Linked DNA regions of Homo sapiens: region 2 is linked to region 1. The links are contacts of gene promoters, found by promoter capture Hi-C in blood cells and fetal thymus (Javierre and others, 2016). All regions are on one chromosome and are shown on one strand. Each heading gives the region's core, a stretch centred on a gene start or on the middle of the fragment in contact. The rest is flanking DNA. Distances are from core to core; before and after follow the strand shown. Region 1 holds the start of NRIP3 (nuclear receptor interacting protein 3). Region 2 holds the start of ADM (adrenomedullin).

Region 1 (6,450 bases), core at 2,305-4,804:
TTACTGTGTTCAACCATCTTTCCCCCAGCATCATTCCTAATTCTAGTCAGTTTTGAAAAAGCATTTAGCTATGATCAGAAGCAATCATATGTAGGAAAGAAAAACTCTATTGCCAGACAAGTAAGAATATGGCCTAATGCCTACAGGTAAGTATAATATCATTTAGGAAAGACAGCATATTACCACATAACATGACTGTTTTTAAAAATTAAAAAGTCCTTAGCACAATGAGAAAAACTTTTATGAACCTGGTAGCTAAAACAAGATAAATTACAATAGGCAAATTTCCAAGAACGGAGATGTTTTTCTCCAGCTTCACTGAGTTAAAAAAAAAAATCAGGGCTGGGTGTGGTAGCTCATGTTTGTAATCCCAGCACTTTGGGAGGCTAAAGTGGGCAGATCGCTTGAGACCAGGAGTTCAAGACCAGCCTGGGCAATATGGCAAAATCCCATCTCTACAAAAAATACAAAAGTTAGATTGGTGTTGTGGTGTGCACCTGTAATCCTAGCTACTCAGGAGGTTGAGGTGGGAGGATCTCTTGAGCCTGCGAGGTCGAGGCTGCAGTAAGATGTGACTGCAGCTGCATTCCAGCCTGGGCAATAGAGTGAGAACCCGTCTCTTAAAAAAAAAATCAAATATAATATTACTCACTCATATCTCTGGTTTTAGTTCTTAATCTAATACAGAATGAACAATACAAGATAAAAGGATAAAAGCAAAAGGGGCAGACAAAAATATAATTTCCACAGAAGACTTTGTATCAGCCAACTCCAGATACACAGGAATAGGCAAAGGCACTTTCCTGGGGCCAAGAGAACATGACCCCCTTTGATTTCCTATGGTTGCCTTCTGCCAGTCCTAAAAGAGCTGGCAGGCTGGTATCAAGCAGTGAACATTACAGAAACAGCATAGTAAGAGGTAGATAATTCAGAAATCCCAGCGGTATATTCAAATATAGGTTGCTGGTATGAGGAAAAACAACCTACAATCTTCACAAACCCAAAAGTCAATAACAACTAATTTCTCCTCTCTCTTCCTTATCTCCCTCTGATGCTATCCTCTCCCTTTTCTTGGACTCCTTCTATCGAGATTATACTATAAACTACTCCAAGTAAGAACTATTCAATTAATTTTAACATCCTCCAAATTTCCCTTGCAGTGAGAGAAAATTGAGTCAACACTGGTCTATCCCACATGTATTTATAAAGTAAAAGAATAATAATGTACTTCTAAGGTCACTTCTAAGATTGTACTAAGGCTGCAACAACAGTTCCAAGAGAGTTTAAGCATGCTGCCTCACCCCAGCGCTTGCGGCTCTCCTAGCCCTACCTCGGTCTGCCTTGGTTTCTGTAACCTGGCTGTTCTGTGCAATCACTTGTACATTATAGGTGTGAAAACAGTGAGAGAGGGAAATCAACTCCATGACGGTGGGGCACAGAAAGCGTGAACCATGATTCAGAGCCTTACAGTCAACTGTCATGTGTATGTGTCATACTCAAGGCAATATCCTGCTTCTTGAGGCTCCTTCCTCTTTGCAGCCTGCTGCCTGTGCTGTATGCTATCAGCCCTTTGTGACTCAACTGAGACAGACTAGAGTCAGAAAAGCGGATGGAATTCTTACACAGCATGAAGTAGTATAAGAAATCCTAGGCAGAAGGAAGTTCAGGTAGCTCTCAGGGCTAGGAAACTCCTCGACAACGAGGGACAACCAAATCCAGCATTTAAAAACTCTGTATTTTAATTCTTCTCTTAATATAATACTTCCTTCTTTATTGATTGCTGAGCATTCTAGGAACTAGGATAGGATTATTTGGCCTGAAGGAAAGAATACTTCTCGAACCTGATTTGTTAAATGAATCGAGATTGCTTTAAAGTGAAAGAAGGGAAAAGAGAGTTATCTCTTTTGCAGGAGCACATTTCAATCACTTATCACTCTGGGTTAGCATAAATCAGATAAACTATCCTGTGGGTTGTGCAAAAAGCAAAACAAAACAAAAAAACACAACTTGTAAAAAAAACAGAGCAAGATAACTGAAGTAGACAAACTCTGCACAGAAGTAACTAATGGCAGGGAGGAGAAAAATTTTTGTATATTATATTATACTGTGTATAATATAATGTACCTGTGTATCATTAGAGCTGTTAAATTAAAAAAAAAAAAAAAAAAAAAAGGAAATGGATGCAGAAGCTCTGCCCTCCTGGGGCCAGAAATGGCAATTTCAGTGAACTAGGGCCGACAACCACATCCAAAATTAAATATTTCAAAAGCTTAAAATAAAAAATACTAGAAAAATTATGCAGAGCACCTATTTCATTTGTTAAAAGACATTTAATTAGTGTTTCACATATTACCACCCAAATGAATAAAGCGATTGTGAAATTCAAGAAAACAATCAAACTACAAGAAAACTCCAGATAAAACTACAAAGTTAAACATAAACTTGGCCCAGGACCACTACAGTGGCTGAGGGATGACAAATACAGTTCTTTATATTGGTAACCCTTAGCCATCCATCCCATTCTATAGAAAGAGGACAGTACCATCTTTGACCCCAGGCCCCCTGTCCTGAGGTGCTTCTACTTAATGCCAGGAACAACTGTGCTAGAAAAAAAGACTGCACCCACCCCAGCTCCAGATGCACACATTAGCTGGTCGGTGAGATGCAGCAGCCTGGCTTCCTCCCTCTACCCACTCCTTGGGGGCGGGGCTGGAAGAGGAGAATGATGAAGAGATGTTGGGGGTTCAGGAAACCTTCACATTTGGCCCCTTTTCTCTCTCCCCACTCAGGATGGAAGGTCAAAGTTAGGACCAAAACTAGAGAAGTGGGTTTTGCATAGGGGGACAATGGATTCAACAGAAGTCCTCTGGATCTGGCAACTGTCAAAAAACCCTCTTTCCACTTCTTTCCCCCTCACGGAAAGCCATTAGGAATCACCTCTGTCTGGGTCATAGGAACAGCCACACAGCATAGGAGGCACAAGCCCCGTGAACAAAATTCGGTATTAAGAATAAGGAAAAAGAAAGAAGACCCGAGGGCAAGAGGGCAGGGCAGGACCTCTTCTTTCTACTGGAGAAGAGACATCCAGGGAGGAGGCACAGCCGAGGGGAGCGCAAGCTAGAAAAGCTACGACGGAATCCCCACCGAAACCGCAGCAGGGGTACTGGAAGGGGAGGAATCCGCGACGCAGCGACCGCGAGCCAAGGGCAGCGGCGGGCCGGGCCGTGACTCAGTGAAAGCCGCAACGGCCGGGCCTCGGAAAACGGCGGGCGCGAAGCCGCCGGGGCCGGGGCGAGAACGGCGGCGGGGGCTCACCATGTCCTTGGACGAGCCCAGCTTCTTGAGGCCGTCCAGGGGCAGCAGGTCGGCGGAGTCCTTGTGGATGAACTGCACCGCCTGCTTCATCCGGCGCTGCTGTCGCAGTGACGCCGCCTCCCGCATGTCGGTCTCCTTGCGGCCGCCCTCAGTGAGGAGCCCTGAGTAAAACATCGCTGAGGCGCCGGCGGCCCGGTAGCCCACAGCCCCCCGGCAGCCTCAGCCTCGAGCTCCTCCAGCGCCGCAAGGGCCCCGAGCCGCGCCTTTTATAGCCGAGCGTGACGTCGCGGGGAGCAGCCAGTGCGCGCGCGGGGGGCGGGGCCGGCACAGAGTCCACGCCCCGCGCGGCTCCCTCGCGTCCCGCGTCCCGCGTCCCGCGTCCCCTGCTCACCCGGTGGCAAAGCCGGCGAGGAGGCGGCGGCGCTGGTGGGGACTGACCCGGCAGTCCGAGAATCCACCGCGGCCTTTTCACCCAACCGCCCCCTCCTGCGTGGGGGCCCCGCATCCCCTGGACTGGCGTGGGCTCTGGGGCCCGATGCCCTGGCAGCCCCGGCCATCTCTGCCGCTGGCCGCGGGTACCTGCTCACCTGTCCACGCCGTGGCCGACCCGGGGATCACCGACAGCCGGGCCATGCCTCGAGTCCCGCCGCCCGCGCCGCTGCTCGGCTTCTCAGAAACGCACCTCCACGCCGCCAGCCGGGGCTCCAGGGTCCACCGCCCGGGCCCGGAGGACTGGCGACTCCCTCCGAGGTTGGGAGCGCTCCGGATTTCTCCAACTTCAGGTCGGTCCCCACCCACCGGGCCACGTGACTGGGGAGGGGGCAGCCGGTGCAGGCGTGTGGAGGAGGCTTTCGGGACCTCCTCCCCCGGGCACCCTCTGCCTGCAGCCCGGCACCCGGCCCGCGTTTCCGAGCCGGGGGAGCAGGTGCAGTCGGAAGCCCGCGGGTGGGCGTGGGGCGGGGGAGTGGCGAGGGTCCCCCGCCTCCGCGGGAGCGCACGCGGCTGCGAGCCCTACACCTGCTCTCCGACCAAAGAAGCACCTGTTTTTCTCAATAAGTGCTAGGGCTTACCATCTAAAGGATCGTTCACCATCCCTCCAGCGTCCTTAGTAGGAGCGATTGGAACCCGTTTTTCTTCCTGAATAATCCATACTTTTAAGCCATTCTAATCGGGCCTTCAGGCATCCTGGATTCTGGTCTCGACATTGTGATTTGACACAAATCACGTTTTCACTCTGGAAACCACAACTACTCCCTCCACCCCATCACGCAGGAGCAGACCTGGATAAGAAATATGTGCACTCTGCAAAGAACCAATGATAAAAGTAACAATATCGACGCTTACTGAGCCTTTACTATGTGCCAGGTACTAGACTAGACACTTAAAATGCAGTATCTCATTGGATCCTGGCAACAGCTTGTAAGATAGTATTCTCATCACCCCCATTTTACAGGCAAATACCTGATACCTTCTGTCTGGCCTCCTGAATGCTCCTTGGTTCCATTCCAATACGTTGTTCACTGTGCTGCCAGAGTAATCTTCTCAAACGATAAGTGTGATCATCTCACTTCCCTGCTAAGAGCACCTCAAAAGGCTTCCTATTGCTCTTAGGAGAAACCCACATTCTTGCATGGTCTGCCTAGACCCTGCATATTCACTCTGTACTTCAGCCTCATGGGCCTTCTTCCAGTTCCTTCCAGTCACCTGTTGCCAAATGGCCTGCCTTTGACTGTCCTGTTCCCTCTGTGTGCAGTGCCCCCTCCTACCCTCTTCAGGAAACTCCTATGCTTCTTCCAGACCTCAGCTCCATTATCATTTCTTTAGGAAAGCCTTCTCTGACCTTCCAGAGAGAGTGAAGTCTCTCTAATTATATACTATCTATCTCTTGGGCATTTGACACTTTCTGTGGGGGTAGGGGTAGGGGGGTACTGGTTGTTGGATTAATATTTGTCTCCTCCACTGATTGGAACCTCCAGGAAGGTGACTGAACCCATTTTTTGCTTAGCATTGATGCCCTAATATGCAGAGGGTTCTCAAATACTAGTGAAAGGATGGCAAAAAGTTAAGGTCGTACCAAAGAAATCAAGTGGTAAAGCTGGCATTTACTCCCAGAACCTGTGCTGGACTACCTAGACCTGGAGAGACTGGGTTTGGCCTCATGAAGCTGCTTCTTTTACTCTGTTCTGCCTTCAACACTTGCCCCAGTTTCAAAGACTGTTTGTGGGAAAACAAATACAGAAGGCTGCTCACTTGGCTTCAAGGAAGCCCCAGGGCTGGATTCCTCCCTGTGTGCCCATCCCCTACTTTCCCCTACACACGGAGGACAGAGTCTCTAGGAGACAGGTGGGATTGCTGTTCACCTTCCAGTCCCCTGGCACACTTCCAGCAGTGAACAACAGTGGCTGCCCTGGCCCCTTCTGTCCCATCACCTGGATCCCTGCCTGATCACTCCTCCAGGTGCAGATCACCCAGGGAACAGTGAAAGTCAGCTTTGCCTTGTCCGTCTAGGAGAGGTGCCTCTGAGTTTGGCAAAGCATCAGGGCAGGTCCAACAGTGAGGGCCCCTAGGGCTTGGGCTGGGACAGTGACTTTCCTCAGGGAGGAAGCCAGGCAGGTAGACACTCTCGGGGGGAGTTGGAATCCCCACTCTCCAGGCTGCTCAGCTCAGACCTGCAGCCTTTTTTGCTGAGGATGTCCTGACAGAAGAAAGGGGCTCTTTTCAGAGCTAGATCCCCCTGGGAACACCAGGAAGCTGAATCTCTCTAGTTGAACTGGAATTTGCCCATATCAAGTGTTGCTGAAAAATAAATGGTGCCCGACTGGAACTGGGAATCTTTTTGTGAATTCAGAGCCCTTTGGTGTAGTGGGATTTGTGTTCTGCAGTTGGGTCTGTGGCTGCAATACCTGTTGGTCCCCTCACCTGTCTGAGACCTTCCTTGGACAGACTGATACCATCACTGCCCTCAAGGTTCAGTGTGGTGAGGCCAGCTCCTTCCTCCCCCCACACATTATGAGTATTCGCAGACTACAGACTGCCTGCTTAATTTAAGGAGAGTTATCTCTGGGTGGTTTATCCTGTTTGCCCAAATGACTTTGAGTAAATCACTTCCTACCTCTGAGCCTCAGTTTCCATATC
Region 2 (6,450 bases), core at 1,827-4,326, 1.3 Mb after region 1:
TCTTTTCTCTTTTCTTGCCAGAAATTTAAAGATGTTTCTTCCTTCACTTCCTTCCTTCCTTGTACTGTCCTTGCTCAACGTGAATCTACAATCACTGCCACTTGAATGGATGCAACTTATGTTAATAAATTGCCAGGATCAGAACTCCCACTGCAGCATTTCCTTCTCCATAGAACCACTGAACCAGAAATGCATTCTAGTGATTTTTTTTTGTCGTTAACGATGATTAATTAAACAAACTCGAGATTTCACGAGAAAAAACATAGATGCCCAGATTTAACAAACTCCTTATCTTTTTTCGACTTAAACCCACGAAGCTTTGGGGAGCACTCTAGCCCCTGCTACTCACCCATGCAAGCGGGGTGCGCGCTCGCGCACACACTCACTCACTCCAAGATAGGGGCTTTCTAGGAAAATACTTTGAGCTGCCAATCCAAGATTTTACTTAAAGAATTGACTTGGTTCTCAAGTGACAGATCTCTAAGTGCCAGAGCGGCAAAGTGCACCAGGCTGATAAAGTGCATGCCAAGACTCTCAGGTGGGAATTCTTGTCACAGCCAAGAGGTTGCTGGCATAGGCACCCGAGGCTGGCAGAGCCTAGCCTCTGAGTCTCCCTACACTCCTGGGCTTGCTTTCCTTTTTGAAGCTGCCTGCAGCTCAAAGAGGAGTTTGAACCAAGGGCACTTGCTTCGCGATCCTCCTGGCAGAGCCACAGCTCAAGTTTCCCCCACGGAATCACGAGCTTTTGTAAAGGGCAGCGAGGAGGCAGCGAGGTGGCAGCGAGGTACAGTCGCAGAGTTCTCTGGAGAACGAACACCCCCGCCGCGCCCCACCCCCCAGGACTGGTGGAGACTGGAAGGAACGAGTCCAGACCACGGGACCTTCCCTGGCCGTGGGCCGACGCCTAGCTGTCCTTGACCTCCCCAGCAGTCGGAGGCGCGCGCGGGAGAAATGAAAGTAAAACCTGTCCTGGCGCGGAACCAAGTGGAAGCTGGCGACAAGTAGGTCGCATCCTCAGAGCGACTGATAGCCAGTCCTGGATCTGCGCGAAGAGCTTGACTCGCAGAGGATAAAGTGAAAGGAAAAGGAAATGGGAGACAAGGGAGAAGAACAATAGTTAGGCTGGGGAGGCTCCTGGTCACCGAGCAGGCGTTCAGTAATAGCTGCTGTCTGCGGTGCAGACGGACTAGTCGCCCGGCCAGGCCACTTCGGTGACTGCCCTGCGCCCAGCCGGGCGGCCGGATCCAGACCAGTGCGCCGCGCTGCACTCCTCTAACCCTCCGCGTCCCAACCCCTTACCAGGGCCAGGGTCAGGGCCCGGAATCTGTCCTCCGTCCTCAGATGGAATTCAGGTCCGCTCAGGTGACTCCTTCCAGGAAGAGTCCTTAAATAACTTCCGCGCGGCCATTTCTTCCCCAGGTGCAATGTCCACTGTTGAGTCCCGAGAGTGAAAAGGCAGCTAAGCCAGCAGTGCGCGGCCCAGACAGACCACTCTGGGCAAGGTCCGCGCGACCCACTGCCCAGCCGCCTTTGCACCGGAGCTCAGAGCCATATGGCAGAGTAGGAAGGAAGCTTAAAGGTCTGCTGGGGACCGGCTCTAAGATGGGGACTCGAGAGATGGGACATGACTCGCCCACCTTCACACAGCGAATTGCCGGGAGGTGAGGACTAGAAGCCTGTTTGGCTAGTGGTCTCGCACCTTTGGCCTCTCCGTCGAGTCGCTGGGCTTCAGGACATTCGATTAGAGGAGTGGTTAGTAGGACCCCAGAAACCCACAAGCACGAAGCAGGAAGCCCCGTGGCTTAGCCTTTCCTTCCCAGTTTGGCCCCCAGGAGAGAAGTAAGAAAGAGAAGAAGCTGTGATGAAAGAGCACAAACGGGTGACAAACGTGTCTAGCGTGATTCATCATGAACAGGCACAAATTCTTTGGGCGGGGGCTAGGACTCTCCTTTGCCCCTTGAGAAGTTGGTGACCCCAGCCTAGAGGAATCCACGCCGCGCCCCAGTCGGCCGTGCTAGCGTGTCGGGCCGAGTAGGGACTCTGCTGCTTCCTACCTGCAGGGTGACTTCCCCTCTCTGCAGATACCTCCCCTCTCTGAGCTTGAATTTTCTACCTGCTGAAATGGGAAAAGGAATGTTACCTTCCTTGCCTGACTCAAGGGTGGCTGTGAAGCTCAAAGTAGACTGGGATGTGGCCGTGCTTGGTAAACTGTAAAATGATTAGCATACGTGAAGCGTTAGTGTGCTCCCTGGCAGTCAGTCCTCACGTTTACGATGGATTAATGAAGGCAGCCAGGCACAATCTCAGGTTATGACCTTATAAGGCATAATAGGATTACAAGGAGGCAAAATGAAACAGTATATTTCCTCCTAATTTTGGTTATTCCTATGTTTCCAAATAGAAATGAAAATTCTGAAATTTCAGATAATTCCCCCCTCCAAATCCCAATTCTCAATTTAGCTTTTCTGAGCCTTGTCCCTACCGTGAAATCTTACTAGCTCACCCCGAAACGCCGGGGTCTTGGTCCTCTGGGGGACTAGTGAGTCCTGCTCCTCTCGGCTTTGCTCCGTCCCTGCCCCGGCCCCTCCGCGGGAGTCTGGGGTCGCGGCCCGGTCAGGCGCCAAGCCGGCAGGGGGGCGCGGTCCACTTGAGGCCACAGCTCCCCAGGTCCAGGGCTCGGGCCATCCGCGCTGTCCCTTCCGCGGGCTCTTGCTGTTCTTCGCCAGGAGGCTTTGCACTCCGGGCCGCATGGGTCCTGGATAAGGACCTCAAGAGGTTGTAGTGGCGCCCCTTCGCTCCGGCGTACTGTCTGAACCCTGTGCCCAAAGAGGGCTGTGGCAGTTCCTGCACCAACCGCCTGGAGCCCATACCTAAGCCCTCTGGGCACGAGGGACCTCCTCTCCCCCGCTCCCCCCTCCCCCCATCCCAACTCCAGCCCCAAAGGAAGCAATGCGCGCGTCCGAGAGCAGGAGCGCGCGTGGCTGAGGAAAGAAAGGGAAGGCAACCGGGCAGCCCAGGCCCCGCCCCGCCGCTCCCCCACCCGTGCGCTTATAAAGCACAGGAACCAGAGCTGGCCACTCAGTGGTTTCTTGGTGACACTGGATAGAACAGCTCAAGCCTTGCCACTTCGGGCTTCTCACTGCAGCTGGGCTTGGACTTCGGAGTTTTGCCATTGCCAGTGGGACGTCTGAGACTTTCTCCTTCAAGTACTTGGCAGATCACTCTCTTAGCAGGTAGGTGCCGCAGACCCTGCGGGTTAAGAGGTGGGGTGGGGGGCAGTGCTTGCCAAGGCCCTAAACTGGGAGCGCTGGGTGAGGGGAACAACCCACTTTGGAGGGTTCTCTGAGAGATAGATACACCCCATATCCTGGGCCCAGCTCGTGCACACAGCTGGAGGTCCAGAGACCCAGTCCCCTCTGCTCCGTCAGCCAAGTTCCAAGAAGTTGAGCAGAGACCCTCTGGGAGCCTGGCGGGGTGCAGCGGCCTCCCCTGCGGGGCCTGTCACCCGGCCGGCGCGTGCAAACGCCTCTGGCGCCTCTCTGCGCGGAGGGAGATAAGCGTCTGAGCCAGGGAAAGCGCGGGCTAAACCCGCCTCGCCGGGGCCCCTGCCCGCCCTCCGTGCCCCGCCCGGGCGGTGCAGCTGGCCCGGGTGCTCACGCTCGACTCTCTTTCTTCTTTTCCAGGGTCTGCGCTTCGCAGCCGGGATGAAGCTGGTTTCCGTCGCCCTGATGTACCTGGGTTCGCTCGCCTTCCTAGGCGCTGACACCGCTCGGTTGGATGTCGCGTCGGAGTTTCGAAAGAAGTGAGTCCGGGCAGCGCCTTCCCCCTTGCTGGTACCTGGCAGGCAAGGGGAACTGACCGTTGGTCCCGAAGGTCTAGAAGTGAATGGGAGCAGGGACAGGCCTGGGCGTCACCTGAACGCACGCGAATCGGGTCTGCTTGTGTTTTCCAGGTGGAATAAGTGGGCTCTGAGTCGTGGGAAGAGGGAACTGCGGATGTCCAGCAGCTACCCCACCGGGCTCGCTGACGTGAAGGCCGGGCCTGCCCAGACCCTTATTCGGCCCCAGGACATGAAGGGTGCCTCTCGAAGCCCCGAAGACAGGTAACTACGCCCTGTGCTGTCCAGGGACGGGAGGGAAGGAAGGTGTGCGGGAGGAGTTCTCTGTCTCCACTCCCCTGGCCCGGGGGATCGTCGGGGCTGGACCGCAGCTCAGATGGCGCGAGCAGTTTCCAGCTCCCTCTGGCTCTAGAATGGCTCCCGTTCCCGGTGTTGGGGCCAAAGCTCTGCTTGATGGGGTCTCAAGTTGCCTTTCTTCCCCCTCCCCCCGCCCGCAGCAGTCCGGATGCCGCCCGCATCCGAGTCAAGCGCTACCGCCAGAGCATGAACAACTTCCAGGGCCTCCGGAGCTTTGGCTGCCGCTTCGGGACGTGCACGGTGCAGAAGCTGGCACACCAGATCTACCAGTTCACAGATAAGGACAAGGACAACGTCGCCCCCAGGAGCAAGATCAGCCCCCAGGGCTACGGCCGCCGGCGCCGGCGCTCCCTGCCCGAGGCCGGCCCGGGTCGGACTCTGGTGTCTTCTAAGCCACAAGCACACGGGGCTCCAGCCCCCCCGAGTGGAAGTGCTCCCCACTTTCTTTAGGATTTAGGCGCCCATGGTACAAGGAATAGTCGCGCAAGCATCCCGCTGGTGCCTCCCGGGACGAAGGACTTCCCGAGCGGTGTGGGGACCGGGCTCTGACAGCCCTGCGGAGACCCTGAGTCCGGGAGGCACCGTCCGGCGGCGAGCTCTGGCTTTGCAAGGGCCCCTCCTTCTGGGGGCTTCGCTTCCTTAGCCTTGCTCAGGTGCAAGTGCCCCAGGGGGCGGGGTGCAGAAGAATCCGAGTGTTTGCCAGGCTTAAGGAGAGGAGAAACTGAGAAATGAATGCTGAGACCCCCGGAGCAGGGGTCTGAGCCACAGCCGTGCTCGCCCACAAACTGATTTCTCACGGCGTGTCACCCCACCAGGGCGCAAGCCTCACTATTACTTGAACTTTCCAAAACCTAAAGAGGAAAAGTGCAATGCGTGTTGTACATACAGAGGTAACTATCAATATTTAAGTTTGTTGCTGTCAAGATTTTTTTTGTAACTTCAAATATAGAGATATTTTTGTACGTTATATATTGTATTAAGGGCATTTTAAAAGCAATTATATTGTCCTCCCCTATTTTAAGACGTGAATGTCTCAGCGAGGTGTAAAGTTGTTCGCCGCGTGGAATGTGAGTGTGTTTGTGTGCATGAAAGAGAAAGACTGATTACCTCCTGTGTGGAAGAAGGAAACACCGAGTCTCTGTATAATCTATTTACATAAAATGGGTGATATGCGAACAGCAAACCAATAAACTGTCTCAATGCTGATTCATTCTCTCGGCTCGGCTCTCACGTCTAGGAAGGGAGGGTGCCCTGGTCCCGGCCCGCCCAGGAGCCTTGGGGTCCCGCCGCCGGGCTTGGGAAGGTGGGACAGCGGCGCGTGCAGGTGCTGGCCCTACTCTGAGCGGGCTGAGCTGTCACGAGCTCTGTTCTCTGTGTGGGGCGCGCAGAACACGTGTCCTGGGTGCGAATCAGGGCTTCGCGGAGACGCCCGAGGTCACCGCCTGGCGTGGCGGCCGGCGGGGGGTGGGTAGGGGGAGCCCTAGTGGGTTGGCGAGCCTGGACTCTCGGGTTGCGCAACGGAGTCCTAGATTTATAGGGTTGCTCACAGAACCCGGCGCGAAAGCGAGCTTCGAAGAGTTGGGGTGGTCTCTGAGGCCTTCTAAGAGAGGCGTTCCCCCTGCCTGCCGCGGTTGTTAAAGTTCCAAGCCGCCCTAGCAATGCGTGGGGACACCTCCGGAAAACCCAGTAACCCCTAGTAACCCCGGGTCTGCCCGGGCCTGAGCGCCCGCGGGCCGCTGGCTCATGGGCGAGGCTGTAGCGCCCCCTGCAGGCAGCTGAGACAGGCCCAGCGCCGCCAAGCAGTACGTGCGGTTTAATAAGTTCTCCTACGTGGGAGTCAGCACACAGCCTTAATGAAAGAGGAAAGAAAGAAAAAAAAAAAGAGAGAAAGAAACAGTTTGCAGATGCCAACCAGGGCCGTCCTCCTACACCCCCCAGACCTGCACCGCGGCTCCCTGTTCTGGGACAGTGACTCAGCGCCCACACGCTGCGCTGCGTGCAGCTGCCGGCTGGAGGCGGGCAGGACGGACGTGCCGGCGGAACCGTGAGCCTCCGACGGCCTGAGACCTTCATTGTTCCGCCTCCCCTAGCCGCTCACCTCTTCCTTCCTCCTTCCCAAGCCTTTTTTCATTTTTTTCTTCACTTTTCTCCAGCCTTCCTCTCTCTCTCTCCTTCCTTCCTCCTTGCTTTCTTTATATGCCTTATCTTCTGAGAAGGTTGACCCCAGTTCCGGCGATAGACGGACACTAAGCCCC

The links. The method cuts DNA at HindIII sites, captures the fragments that hold promoters and counts their contacts. A CHiCAGO score of 5 or more calls a contact.
Region 2: the fragment with the promoter of ADM here is called in contact with the fragment with the promoter of NRIP3 in region 1 in 2 of 17 cell types (fetal thymus and non-activated CD4 T cells); the score reaches 7.7 in fetal thymus.

The regions. Positions count from the first base shown.
Region 1 is chr11:9,000,447-9,006,896 of GRCh38, forward strand. It overlaps NRIP3 (nuclear receptor interacting protein 3), which reads right to left and starts at 3,555. Exons shown (of 7, transcript NM_020645.3): 1 at 3,316-3,555. The coding sequence starts at 3,489. NRIP3-DT (NRIP3 divergent transcript) reads left to right here and starts at 3,642. Exons shown (of 3, transcript NR_183663.1): 1 at 3,642-4,097. RefSeq lists an enhancer at 2,732-3,651. The HindIII fragment of the contact is 8,665 bases long and covers 2,268-6,450 here.
Region 2 is chr11:10,301,997-10,308,446 of GRCh38, forward strand. ADM (adrenomedullin) reads left to right here and starts at 3,077. Exons shown (of 4, transcript NM_001124.3): 1 at 3,077-3,233; 2 at 3,684-3,802; 3 at 3,953-4,102; 4 at 4,336-5,401. The coding sequence starts at 3,705. The coding sequence ends at 4,645. CAND1.11 (a long non-coding RNA gene) reads left to right here and starts at 6,317. Exons shown (of 4, transcript NR_103765.1): 1 at 6,317-6,450. It also overlaps a transcript of SBF2 not described here. RefSeq lists enhancers at 785-864, 885-1,064, 5,918-6,187 and silencers at 1,989-2,048, 2,539-2,638, 2,819-2,868, 3,549-3,598, 3,619-3,668 and 2 more. The HindIII fragment of the contact is 5,037 bases long and covers 1,571-6,450 here.